4 separate regions of the Homo sapiens genome follow, and all the other regions are linked to region 3. The links are contacts of gene promoters, found by promoter capture Hi-C in blood cells and fetal thymus (Javierre and others, 2016). All regions are on one chromosome and are shown on one strand. Each heading gives the region's core, a stretch centred on a gene start or on the middle of the fragment in contact. The rest is flanking DNA. Distances are from core to core; before and after follow the strand shown. Region 1 overlaps TDP1 (tyrosyl-DNA phosphodiesterase 1). Region 2 overlaps EFCAB11 (EF-hand calcium binding domain 11). Region 3 holds the start of PTPN21 (protein tyrosine phosphatase non-receptor type 21). Region 4 overlaps EFCAB11 (EF-hand calcium binding domain 11).

Region 1 (3,553 bases), core at 94-2,593, 1.4 Mb before region 3:
CACTGGTTACTTCATATATTTGCTCCCATTTTTCTGCATTTCCAGTTTAAAGATGAGCAAACTAAAATTCAGAGAATGTTAGGTCCTGTGTTAACAATCCATACAGCAAATGAGTGGTGAGGCCAGAAAGCAGATTCTAGAGCTCCTGCTCTTCCTCCTGCAGGTGCTCCCTGAGGAATAAGGAGAGCAAACTAAGGCCATCTTTTGATCCATAACTGAAACATCTATTTGCACTCAGGCACTATTTTGTTTTTTCTTCTTCTTCTTCACCAGGAACTAAAACCAGGCTTTTAAGCAGTGGTTCTCAAACTTGACTGGGCAGTAGAATCCCCTCAAGGGCTCGTGAAAACACAGACTGCAGGATCTCACCCTCAGAGTCCAATTTAATGAATCGGGAATGGGGCCCGAGAATTTGCATTTTAACAAGTTGCAGGTGATGCTGAGGCTGCTGGTCCAGGGCCCATGGAGAACTACTACTGTTGTCAAGTATTTGCTACCTTGTTGATAAACTGTTACTCATCAAGCTTCATCTTAAAAAGTTAAATAATGCTAAACATCGTGCTAAGTGATATAAGGGGTTGAGCTACAGGGTTTTGAGAACACACGCTCTGCCTGAGTTAAGTAAACAGTCTGCTGTTATACTAATGCACTTGCCTGTCAAGAATTTTTTTCCTGAAAGTAGTTAAGAACACAAAGAAGAGTTCTCAGAAACTATTCTAGGCTGCCCTCCTTGTTTCACGGAGGAGAGACTCTCAAGGGCAATTCAACAGCTCCTTGACACCCAGCATCCTCTTACCCTTGATGTGGAGGGCTCCAGAGTTATACTTTGGCTTAACTCCAGAGACTCTAGTGAGGTAAAACTGGAAGGGGTTCCCTTTATCCAGCATGTCCCAAATGTCCTGGCCCTCCCCTGATGTCTCATACTCGTCTTCCTCCTCTTTGAGCCTGTGGCAGGCGGGAGCGCCATGATTTTCAGTTCTTTGGGCAGTGCCGTCATTGGGAGCAGAGATGTCTTTCTCCTTTTTGATCACCACTTTCTCAGCCTGCTTCTGCGGCATTTCTGGTTGCAGCTCATCATCACTGCTGGACAGACACCAGCCGAGGTCCTCCTGGGAACCGCTTTTCTGCCTTTTGGGAGGTAAAACTGAATCTGTATTGCTGAATTTCACAGGTGATATTTTCCTCTTGTGTGCAGCTTTCTGGGCCTCGGAACAGGTGTACCTGGGCTCATTTGCTGCTCCTTGCCTGGCACAGAGAAGAGAAGAGGTAGATGGCTTGTCTGGTTTTGGCTTTTCTTCCTCACTTTCATCACTACTAGATATGGTCCACCTCCCATAATCGCCTTCCTGAGACATTATACTCCTGGAAATGAAAAGTGGAAACATCAGCATTTCCCATTCATCAGGGCATTGGCAAAATAACTTTATTGCTCTCAACTTCCCTGTCAGATGAGCTGACACCTTCCAGAGGCTGAACCACCTAACATCAGCTGCTTTTTGGGTGTTTATAAGCACATTACCAGAATCCACTATCAGATTCTGCCAAATCACAAGCAAAAGTCCTGGTCACCTTTCTTTTTTCTTCCTTTTTTTTTTTGAAACAGGGTCTCGCTCTGTCACCCAGCTGGAGTGGTGCAGTGGTTCAATCTCAGCTGACTGCAACATCTGCCTCCTGGGCTCAAGCAATCCTCCTGCCTCATCCTCTCGAATAGCTGGAACTACAGGTGCACGCCATCACGTCTGGCTAATTTTTTTTTTCTTTTTTTTTGGTAGAGACAGGGTTTCATTATTGTTGCCCAGGCTGGCCTTGAACTCCTGGACTCAAGAGATCCACCCACCTTGGCCTTCCAAAGTGCTGGGATTACAAGTATAAGCCACCATGCCTGGCCTTGGCTTTCAATCTAAACTTTGTTCTTAGATGTCCTAGGAAAGGGGGTTGAAGAATGCATCAAGACAAATGCCAAAATAAAACAAACATTCATTCTTGACCCCGAAACTTCCAATAAGCGTTTGGGATTAAGGTCCATTTAATCTATGTTCAAATGCTTAAGGTCAAATTGGAATTTACAAACCTAGCCTTCACCCAAGTACAGGCACCCACAGGACTTCAGTGATTATGTATGTCTTACTTCCCAAAAGACAACCCATTTACCATAAAGCTTAACAAAGTCTTCAAGAGGAAAGCCAAATGACCACTTAGGTATGTACATTATTTACACTACTTCCATGAGGACCCAACTAATTATAATTAGTTGGATATAATTATATCAAGATATAATTATCCTATTGGCTACATCATAAATCTACTAACACCTACACAGAAATAACTTGTACTGAAGCAACACACTTTTATTTTTTAAGCCCCACAGTCAAATTCTACTTTCTTGTTCTGAGAACAGGAAAGTACACGAAACAGTCACTTTTGCTGTTACCTACCAAATCTTGTCAATTCAGTGGTAAAGGACTATCTAAGTAGACTTTCCAGACAGCTAAAGAACAGTTCCTCAATGTGATACTTTTAACATTTTAGCACAAGACCCAGGGGAAAATTACAAAACTCAGTAGTCTGTGCTCAGATCAACAGTATCTTCGAGTTTCTGCTGTTTTAATGAGGCTGGAAAAGATGCATTGAGTGGAGTAAACCAAGATGGTGACACTCCCTTCACAAAACCTACATTCCCCAAAAAAGAGAATTCAACATTATTCTACATCAAAAGATTTGCAAATCAATACATATGCATATGTCTCTAGATGAGAACTAAAAATAAAAATCTTGGCTAAGGGGACCCCAGAGAAACCTTAAAAACTGAGTTCCGGGCCATGATGAGATGGGAGCTCAGACATGCCTGTTATATCCCCTCCCTTCTGCGGTTTAAACACAACTGACCAGAGATCGTAAGACTGGCAGAATAGATTCTGTGACAATATGACACTAAATCATAAACAAGACCTAAGGCCATGCCAAGCAAGGGTTAAATCACACACTGCTACCTTTAAACTATGTTCTACCTTCCACAAGGTTCTTTTTTCTTCAGCAGCTAAATAAGCACTGGCCTAGAGATAAGGAATATCTAAACAATTGCAGCTCACCTACTGCCAGATGCTTGACTAACTGACCCCTCTGGTTCCACAGGCCATGACTGCAGCTGTCATTGGACAATGGAGTAACTTTCTCCTGAAAAGAAACCACAGACTGGTTCTGACCAGTCCTCAGAGGCTGAGCACTGAGTGCCTTCATGTCTCTCCTTCACCTTTTGACAGAGGGCCTAATTGTAATTCATTCAAATGTTAAGTCTCCATCCCAAAGTGAACACGAGATGCACAAAACACACGTTTGCTCATTACACATGCACACGTGTCCCCCCTTGGTGAATATTCATAGCTCCTCCCACACCTGTTGAATACTATACTTGGCCAACCCATTCAGTATAAATCTCTGTTCTACCCTCTCCTCCCTGGGATGCCATTAAAGGTCTCTGCCTGAGGCTGTGCTTCCCAGCCTGTCAGGCCACACTGCAGGCTGTAGCCCTTTATAAGAACTAAGCTCTCCTTTC
Region 2 (3,097 bases), core at 7-2,506, 1.4 Mb before region 3:
AATCCCAGCACTTTGAGAGGCCAACGCAGACGAATCACTTGAGGCCAGGAGTTTGAGACCAACCATGATGAAACCCCGTCTTTACGAAAAAATACAAAAAAATTAGCTGGACATGGTGGTGCATGCCTGTAATCCCAGCTACTCGGGGGGCTGAGGCACGAGAATCATTTGAGCCCAGGAGGTGGAGGTTGCAGTGAGCCCAGATTGCATCACGGCACTCCAGCCTGGGTGACAGAGCAAGACTCTGTCTCAAAAAAAAAAATAAAAAAAAAAAATCCCCTAATAATGGAAATTCAAAATACATGAAGCAAAAAACTAATAAAACTGTAAAGAAAAATGGACAAATCCATAATGATGGTAGGAGGTTGCAACACCCCTATCAATAATTAAGCAAGTAGACATAAAATCAATAAGGATATAGGAGACGTGAACAGCACTGTCAACCAGTGTGACCTAATTGTAATCTATAGAATGTTCTACCCAACAAAAGCAGAATACACATTCTTTTCAAGTCTACACAGTATATTTAATAAAATTGGTCATACTCTGGGCCATTAAACATGTCAATACATTTAAAGTACAAAGTATGTTCTTTGTGATGGAACGACATTAGAAATCAATAGCAAAGCTGTCTGGAAAAGTTGCAAATAGTTGTTCCAAGTAAAAGTTTAAAAGTTCCAAACAAATAGCACACTTCTAAATAACTCATAGGTCAAAGAAAAAATCAAAAGGGAAAAATTAGGAAGTATTTTGAATTGAATGAAAAGACCACATTTCAAATTTTGTAGGATGGATTGAAAGCAATACTTGGAAAGTGGTAGCACTAACTTTCTATGTTTAGGAAAGAATAAAGGTGTCAAACTGATGACCTCAGCTTCTACCTTTAATTATCTTCTACCTTTAACTACAAAAAAGAGTAAATAAGGCCCGAAATAAGTGGAGGAAAGGAAATAGTAAAGATTGGAATGGAAATTGTTGAAATTGAAAAGAGGACAAACAAGAAAAAATTAAAAGCTGATTTTGTTGAGGTAATCAATAAAAATGAGAAACTACTACCCACACTGAGTGGGGGGGGAAAAGAGAGCAGGGATTACTAACATTTAGATTTAAAATCTAATATTTTATTAGATTTATTATTAGATCTAATAAAATCTAATATTTTATTAGATTTATTATTAGATCTAATAAAATCTAATATTTTATTAGATTTATTATTAGATCTAATAAAATCTAATATTTTATTAGATTTATTATTAGATCTAATAAAATCTAATATTTTATTAGATTTATTATTAGATCTAATAAAATCTAATATTTTATTAGATTTATTAATATTGTATTAAAATCTAATACACTTTATGTACAAGGTTTAGAATCACATTTAAAATAAGACTTTCAGGATTATTGCTAGGAGAACATGTTCTTGATATAATCGCTAACTTGATAGAATTGCTCCAGGTTTTAAATTTCTTGTTGAAAATTTTCACTTTCAAAATATTCAGAATAATGTTTGATGTTCCATTAGTTACAACTTCTTGATAAAGCCTTTTCTACATTTTTTTCATTAGGGTTTTTTGTGAATATTCCAATCTACAGAGAGTTTTGTTTTCTGGCAAAAGGATTTCCCACATTCTTTGCATTGATAGGATTTCTCTTTCTTAAGAGTTCCCTGATATTCAGTGAGTTATTCTTTCTGGATGAAGATCTTACCCTAGTCATAATATCGTGTTTCTCTATTATGTTACTGATATGGATTGGCTGTGTCCCCACCCAAATCTCATTTTGTAACTCCCATAATTCCCACGTGTTGTGGGAGGGACCCAGTGGGAGATAATTGAATAATGGGGGCAGGTCTTTCCCAGGCTGTTCTTGTGATAGTGAATAAGTCTCACGAGATTTGATGGTTTTAAAAAGAGAAGTTCCCCAGCACAAGCTCTCTCTTGTCTGCTGTCATTCATGTAAGACATGACTTGCTCCTCTTTGCCTTCCGCTATGATCGTGGGGGCTCCCCAGCCGTGTGGAACTGTAAGTCCATTAAACCTCTTTCTTTTGTAAATCGTCCAGTCTCATCTTTATCAGCAGCATGAGAAAAGATTAATACAGTGGCTTTTCTGATACATCAAGTGTGACTATTGCTGAAGGCATTTTAACATTCATTATTCTCATAGACTTTCTTTCTTCTGTATGTTCTCTGATTTTGAATTAAGGATTTGACTTCACACTGAATGTTTTCTTTCCTTAACTAGTTCTCTAATGTGCAGAGAGGTATGGATTCTGGAAGAAAGAATACAGTCCCCACCTGTATTCTCCCAGCTGTACTCTAGTGTGAGTGTGTATGTATGTGTGTGTGTGTGTGTGTTTATTTGGAGAAACTCAAGACCACAAACATTCAAGAAAAGGAGTAAAATAGCCTAGCAAGAAATCACTGCTGTACTCTGATTGCTGCTAACATGCAATTTTTCTATTAGAATTGTTCAATACTGAACCAATTTCAAACCATCCACTTTTTCTTCTTTCCCTCTTATTGATACGAGTCAATTTTACATGCTATTTCTCTTGAAGGAAGAGAGCACATGTGCAGATTAAATGTTTTTCCACATATATTATCTCTCTTCTTAATGTTTGGATCTTGAAGAACTGAAATTGGCGGGGTGTGGTAGCTCACGCCTGTAGTCCCATGCAATTTGGGAGGCCAAGGTGGGTGGATCACTTGAGCCCAGGAGTTTGAGACCAGCGAGAGCAACATGGCGAAACCCCATCTCTACAAAAAATACAAAAATGAGCCAGGCCTGATGGTACATGCCAGTCCCAGCTACTCAGGGGGCTGAGGTAGAGGATTGCTTGAGCCCAGGAGGTTGAGACTGCTGTGAGCCATGATCACGCCACTGCACGCCAGCCTAGGTGACAGAGCGAGACCCTGTTTCAAAAAAAAAAAAAAAACAGGTCTGAAATGCTGGCCTTGGCCTCCTGGGAACTATTTATTCAGGTAATCAACTTTCCAAAGTTGTTCTGTATAATACAGCTGTGACTTGGGAATTCTCTGCTATCCATTGTTCTTCTTACTTCGGAACAGGGCTCTAACACACCATCCACAGGA
Region 3 (3,360 bases), core at 551-3,050:
TATAAAAGAAGCCGTCATGAAACAACTTTTACAGTTCTTGCCAAGTGTGGAGATCACTGTGGAATGGTGTGGCTAGAAAGTCATCCTGGAAGCAGAGTCTTACTTGCAGAGAAGCAGAAGGCTTAGACAAGTGGAAAGAGGGCAGGAGGGGCTGCTGGCCAGGGGCAAAGCTTGACAGGGGCAGAAAGCGATATAGGTGGTCAGAGAGGCCCGTTTGGAAAGTCCCTATAGGTCAGGCAGAAGAACTTAACCTTGGGAGTCCATTAAGAGTGATAAGAGAAGGAAGCCTGGTATTAGCAAGGAAATAAGAGAGAACTGAGAAACCAGATGCCAGGAGACCACCCTTGTTGCAATAATCCGGATGTAAAATGATGAGGGTTTGGATTTAGAATGTTCCAGGGGGAACAGAAAGGAAACAAAGAATTCATGAGACATTTCAAAGGAGGAAATACCAGGTCTTGATGACAGGCTGGAGATGATAATGGGAGAAGTCACACATGATTCCAGTTTTTCTACCTTGGGAAGCCAGCAAAGTGACTTCTTTTTAGATCTCTTTTCTTTGCTCACACACAAATTGACCCCCTCATAGAGTTCAGTTGAAATATCAATTACAAACAGAATTGATCTATTTTTTTTCCCTTAGAAACACAGGTAATCTTATTTGCCTTTAGCTAAACGACCCAAGATGCACCTTGCTGGGCTTTGCTCTTGGATAGCACTCATACCTCTATGACAATGCTCCCCACTTTGGCCTTGTACTGCGTGTGTGGTGTGCAGGTGCGTTTATCACCCACTAAACCAAAAGTCCGTGTTGTGCAGGGACCACGTCTCATGCAGAGTTAAGTATTCAAAAGTTTTTGTTAATTGTTTAAGAAAATGAGATTTACATGAAACAATACTTTAAAAAGCTTTCCAGAAACAACAGCATTAAAACAAAATCACTGAAATTAAAATTTACATAAATTAAAAGGTTCTGTGTTCCACATGCCAAGAAAAGATCTTACACTATTGTAATAGTGGTAGGGTCACACAGTTTTATTCCTCAGCTTAAGTGCTGCAATACAGTAATAATGCAGTACAAGAATACTGTATAATAAACCTTAAACGAAACACTTCATATATACTTTACACAAGTTATTGGATATTGCTTAGTATTTATTTCCCCCACCCCTGCTGTGCAAAGATATTAATATCCCTCTTTTATAGGAGAGGAAACAGGTAAAGAGAAGTTAAGAAACTTGCACAAGGTCATCCAGCTAGTAAATGTTGGAGCTGGGATTTGACAACTTTGTCAAGTCTCCATCCTTAACAGTTCTGCTCTATATTGCATAAGCAGACAGCTCCCTTTTGGGGACTGACAGGTTATTTGAGGCATATGAACCATTTTTGGTGGGGGGGCTTTCCCACCCAGTACTGGAAGTGTCTAGTTATATGGGGCATAACCTTAGGAGCAAGCAGGAAAAGAAGAAATGTATTCCAATAGTGTTCAGAAATATACCAGAGTAAACGAATAACCATCAATAACAGCATTTTACAGCCTACCTAATAACACAGGAATAAAACCCTTTATCTGGAACCTAAATAATACCCCCTCCACTCATTTTATTAAAAGCCTTGCTTTATTTGGAAACTCTTAAAATAAGTGGTCATACGATTAAAAAAAGCAGCGGCGCGCCCCCTCCCCGGCGGCCGGGCGCAGCTGTCCGCGCCTCCCCCGCGCGGCTGCCCGCATTCCAACTCTCTGAGGTCACGGGCCGCCGCCGCCTCCCCGGATCCGCCCGCCCGGCTCAGGGGGAGGGACGCCTGGGCCCGGCCGCCCCGCTGCTCCGGCCGCGCGTCCCGCGTCGGTCCGACGGTCTGTCCGTCCTCCTGCCACCCCCCGCCCCCACGGGGCTTCTTTGTGCGGCGCTCCTCGCCGGCCGGTCCCACCTCCAGGCCTCGCCCCTCGCCGTCGCCACCGCCGGACTCTGCCCAGGGGAATGGTCTGCGAGCCGGGTTTTTGGAGACAGGAAGTGAGGCGTGCGAGCCCCATGAGCGCGCCGCGGCCCGGGCTGGCGTGCGGGTGCGGCTGCGGCGGCCGCGCGGCGGGGCCCCGGGAGGCGGGTCGCTGAGCGGGGCGCGCGGCCCCGAGGATGCGGGAGCGGGAGCGGGAGCAGGTGAGGGCGCGGTCCCCGGCCGGCGGGAGGGGCGGGCGGCTGGCCCGAGCGGTGGGGTGTGTCCACTCGCCCGGACCCCGGAGCGCGCCCGCGGCCCCGGAATCCCGGAGAATGGGGCGCGGCGGCCAGACCCGTAGCGGGAGCGTAACAAAGAGAAAAGTCTTGTTTTTCAGGTTCGCTCTCATATACTTGAGTAATTTCTAAAAGGAGTCTTGAACTTCTATTCCGAACGCCCTGGCCGATTGTTGCGGGTTAATTCTGGATCAGGGTTTTAAATGTGTTAGGCATATTTGTGCCTCTCAGAATATATAAACGTGAAATTCGCCAGATAACTTTGGCGAGAAGGGGCGCAGGGAAGGACTGTTTGGTAACGCCTGGGTTTGTTTTTGGAGTAGAGTATTTACTCTGGAAACAAGAATTCTTGGATCTGCAAATTCCGACTTGTGATTTCTGCAAATCCTGATTAGATTGGCCGCTCTTGGCATGCTCGTCCTATTTTCTTTTTTGCTGAGAAAGCCTTATACTAATAGCGTATGCTCACAAACACATTCAGAACATTCGTGTGCTCCAAGTGACAACTGCTGTATGCCTAATAGTTGCTGACAGTTTATTTATTTTTTTAAGTTTGGGACACGACAGTAATTTTACTCTGAATATAGTCCGTTTCGTTTCTAGGGCATTTTATTCTGGAGCATCTACGCACAGATGTTTTCTCCGTGAGAAACATGGGTTTAATGCTATAGCTATAGATATTACTCTAAAAATGTCACATACTCTCTCCTTTTAGTGCTTATTTTATTTTAAAGCAACTTTGGCAAAATTACATGTGGTAAGGACCTTAATAGGAAAGGGGAAACGCTGTAAGATTGAGAGGTAAAGTGTATTTGAGGAACTTTTGGAAAGGGTTGTAGAGAGGGAAAATTAAAATGAATTCACAAATAGTTCAGACTGCCTTTTGTAAACTTGTACTGAAGCAGAATCTAGTATGTATCTGTTTACTTACCACAAAACGGAAAGATTTTGTAGAGAAAAAATTATATCCTAGTTTTCCTTTAATAGCTATTTATAAATTATGTTTACTTTAGTAAATTATAATTCCAGACCCAATCACTTTCATATTATTGCATATTATTTTATACCTGAAACAGACCTCCCCAAAGAACTCTTAAATTTCTACTCATCTTGGTTTTATTATCTTCAGACA
Region 4 (3,320 bases), core at 174-2,673, 1.4 Mb before region 3:
GTGATGGTTGTACCAAACCTTTCCCACTACTGTGCTTTGCAGGTGATCTTGCCTTTTTCTTCATGGAGAGGATCATGGCCTCTTCCTGGGTTTACTGCCTTCTCTTCATCTCTTTTCTGTATTCCTTTAATTTTCTTTCTTCTTCTTCTTCTTTTTTTTTTTTTGAGATGGAGTCTCGCTCTGTTGCCCAGGCTGGAGTGCAGTGGTGTGATCTCGGCTCACTGCAACCTCCACCTCCTGGGTTCAAGCGATTCTCCTGCCTCAGCCTCCCAAGTAGCTGGGATTACAGACGTGTGCTACCATGCCCGGCTAATTTTTGTATTTTTAGTAGAGATGGGGTTTCACCATGTTGGTCAGGCTGGTGTGGAACTCCTGACCTCAGGTGATCCACCTGCCTTGGCCTCCTAAAGTGCTGGGATTACAGGCGTGAGCCACCACGCCCAGCCTTCCTTTAATTTTATTTCTGAGGAAAAGGGGTCTCTTCTTTTTTTCCTAATTCCTCTCTTTTGTTCTGGTCTTCTCTCTTCCCCTTTTTTTGATCTAAGACATTTCTCCATCAGCCATTCCCACTTCTGTTTATAATGCCTATCCCTGCCTGAAGATATACTCATATCCATCCTAGAAAGCTGCTCTCCCCAACTAAGTACCTCCAGTTGTCCCCTGTCCTTTTTCTCAGGGTTCATTGTTGCCAGCTTCTCACAGCATTCACACCCTGCCTGGAGAGCCAGTCCTCGATTCTCGCTCTTCCCCAGCTTTCATTGCACTGTATTGTCCACTGCAGTCACAGTGCTTCCCGTTCATTGATTACCAACTACGTGTTGCCTTACTTAGTCCTTACAGTGACTCTCCACATCAACGGCATTTCTATCCATTTTACAGTTAAAGCTGAGAGTCCTTTATTGCTCAATTCAAACCAAACAACTAATTCGCAATTATTATTATTTTTTTGGTCAAAGAAGTCACAGAACCAAGCCCCTAGGGCAATCAGAATTTTTTATTTGATTATAATCATGTTGCTGGTACTTGTTAATGGTCAAGTGTTTTCATAACCTCAAAATGTTATTTTCTTGTTTAGAAATGCCACTGCCTAGTAATGATAATGATGGAGTAGACTGAATTTACAGGTAGAATAAAATGTCTGCACTCCCATGTTAATTGCAGCATTATTCACAATAGCCGAGATATGGAAACCCATATTAAGTGCCCACCACTGGATGAATGGATAAAGAAATTGTGGTATGTGTGTACAGCAGAATATTATTCAGCCTTAAAAAAGAAGGAAATCCTGCCATTTGCAACAGCATGGAGGAATCTGGGGACATTATGCTAAGTGAAAGAAGCCAGACACAGAAAGACAAATATTGCATGATATTACTTATATGTGACATCTAAACTAGTCAAACTTGGAGAAAAAGAGTGGAATGGTAGTTGCCAGGGGCTGGGAAGTGGGGAAGATGGGGAGATGTCGGTCAGAGGATACAAAATTTTAGTTACAGGGTGAATGAATTCTAGTGATCTAGTGTACAGCATGGTAACTATAGTTAATGTGTTGTGTACTTCAGATTTGCCAAGGGAGCAGATCTTAAGTGTTTTCAACACACACATACACACACACACACACACACACACACACACACACACACACACACGAAGCATGTCAGGTGATGGATATGCTAATTAGCTTGACTGTGAGTCATTACACAAAGTATACTTTTATAAAAACGTCATCTTGTATACCTTAAATATAGACAATTTTTTGTCAGTCATACCTCAAAAAATGTCTACACAGACTTAGTGAGACTCATGACATGAGTCATGTTAAAGGATATAAGAAACAAATAAAAGTTTAAAAATGCTTTTCTTAACCCAAGTCTTATTGTTAGGATTCCTCATAATCCAGTCATGACTTCAATTAGAAATCCTTGCCGTGGGATATCAAGACTCTTGTCCAAGGAGAGGAAGGGGCAGGAGGGTCTCACTCTTGTTCTCTCCTTGTAAAAATTTAACTCTGTTTGCAGGAGAGAGTATTTGACGAATACATGAACAAATAAATGAATGAAATGAACGAAGGAATAGAATTAATCTGATCAAAGTTTACATGTTCAAATTATGTGTTGAATTGGATAGAGCAGCTGCTGGCCCTTACTTTTTTCTGGGCCTATTTCAAATGGTCTTCTTTACTAGGCTTTCAATTGGAGATTTAGACTTGGAGGCTTTAACAAATATGAATTGAGTACACATTTGTATAGCGATTTAAACTGCTATTATCACAAAATTGTCACAGTAGTTTTAAACTCTGTCAGATGGCTTTTAACCAAACCCTGCCATCAGAGTCAAATTTGATTCTTTGGATGGTTCTTTCCTTTTTTCTGTCTCTTTCACATTGTCTAGTAAAGAAGTTTCTTCAATGACCAGTTTTGTCATAGAGTTGGTGCCATTTATTCTGTGGGTTACAAATTTATCATCACAAGTAGCTAGATGTACTTCTCATAGACAACTTGTATCCACAAATTTGTTGTTTTTTTCTTTTTTTCTTTTTTTTTTTTCTGAGCCATTCTCCCTAGAAAACACAAATTGTTTTGGGGGGAAAAATTAGACTGTTCTTCAGGGGTATTTATTTTCATGATTCACTGTGCAGAGATCGGAGTTGTGCCTTAAGGGCTTGGCTCTGCTCTCTTGATACTGGTATCCATTGCTAGGTGTGGCTCAATTAAACAGGAAGGATGGCTAGATAGCATATATATTCACATGTCAAATGGCAGCATCCATCTTTGAGACAGGAATCTTGGTGGGAAAAGTTCAATTTTTTAACAAATGTGAAATTACCTCCTCAATCATTTTTATTTCCGGTTAAATTAATGTCTTATATAAACACTGTAGGCTAGCATAGTATTTGATACCATTTAGTTTGCTCTCTCTTTTAGTTCCTAATTTTCATTGTAGTTCTCAGTGTTTGCTTTTTGAGTGTGAGTTTATGGCAGAATAAATCAAATTAACTTTGGTGGGTAGATTGAGTTTTCTCTGATGACCTTTACTAACCAAAACATACTTTCTTCTCAGGTGAAAAAGCCAGAGTGGATTATTATTTATTTGACTGACAAAGAAATGCATTTCTAATTTTATTTAGTGACTAAAATAAATTGATTCACCGTAAATTAAATATGAAATAAATGCATGATCCTCTCTTAATGAACCAAACAGATTGAGAGCCGAGCACCTTTGCAGTACACCTCTTTCACCAGTTGGTGGTGCCAAAAACTCTGCTAAGAAACTGATTGAAAGAACAGAAGGTTAACCAGGAGCCTTTCTTAATAAGCGTT

The links. The method cuts DNA at HindIII sites, captures the fragments that hold promoters and counts their contacts. A CHiCAGO score of 5 or more calls a contact.
Region 1: a contact is called between a fragment that was not itself captured here and the fragment with the promoter of PTPN21 in region 3, in 4 of 17 cell types (activated CD4 T cells, total CD8 T cells, naive CD4 T cells and 1 more). The highest score is 8.1, in activated CD4 T cells.
Region 2: a contact is called between a fragment that was not itself captured here and the fragment with the promoter of PTPN21 in region 3, in 1 of 17 cell types (total B cells). The highest score is 5.0, in total B cells.
Region 4: a contact is called between a fragment that was not itself captured here and the fragment with the promoter of PTPN21 in region 3, in 3 of 17 cell types (naive CD8 T cells, M0 macrophages and monocytes). The highest score is 6.4, in naive CD8 T cells.

Annotation. Positions count from the first base shown.
Region 1 is chr14:89,960,917-89,964,469 of GRCh38, reverse strand. TDP1 (tyrosyl-DNA phosphodiesterase 1) reads right to left here. Exons shown (of 17, transcript NM_018319.4): 3 at 797-1,362. The coding sequence starts at 1,355. Among named protein-coding and RNA genes, the nearest start is that of TDP1, 6.8 kb to the right of the region's middle. RefSeq lists an enhancer at 395-1,594. The HindIII fragment of the contact is 1,634 bases long and covers 527-2,160 here.
Region 2 is chr14:89,943,091-89,946,187 of GRCh38, reverse strand. All of the region lies in intron 3 of EFCAB11 (EF-hand calcium binding domain 11), which reads left to right. Among named protein-coding and RNA genes, the nearest start is that of EFCAB11, 10 kb to the left of the region's middle. The HindIII fragment of the contact is 4,864 bases long and covers 1-3,097 here.
Region 3 is chr14:88,553,447-88,556,806 of GRCh38, reverse strand. PTPN21 (protein tyrosine phosphatase non-receptor type 21) reads left to right here and starts at 1,800. Exons shown (of 19, transcript NM_007039.4): 1 at 1,800-2,156. It overlaps LOC124903405 (proline-rich protein 2-like), which reads left to right and starts at 17. Exons shown (of 2, transcript XM_047432047.1): 1 at 17-44; 2 at 1,747-2,150. The coding sequence starts at 17. The coding sequence ends at 2,111. RefSeq lists a silencer at 1,793-1,842. The HindIII fragment of the contact is 3,064 bases long and covers 911-3,360 here.
Region 4 is chr14:89,915,383-89,918,702 of GRCh38, reverse strand. The region is part of intron 5 of EFCAB11 (EF-hand calcium binding domain 11); the gene reads left to right. Among named protein-coding and RNA genes, the nearest start is that of EFCAB11, 38 kb to the left of the region's middle. The HindIII fragment of the contact is 4,035 bases long and covers 1-3,320 here.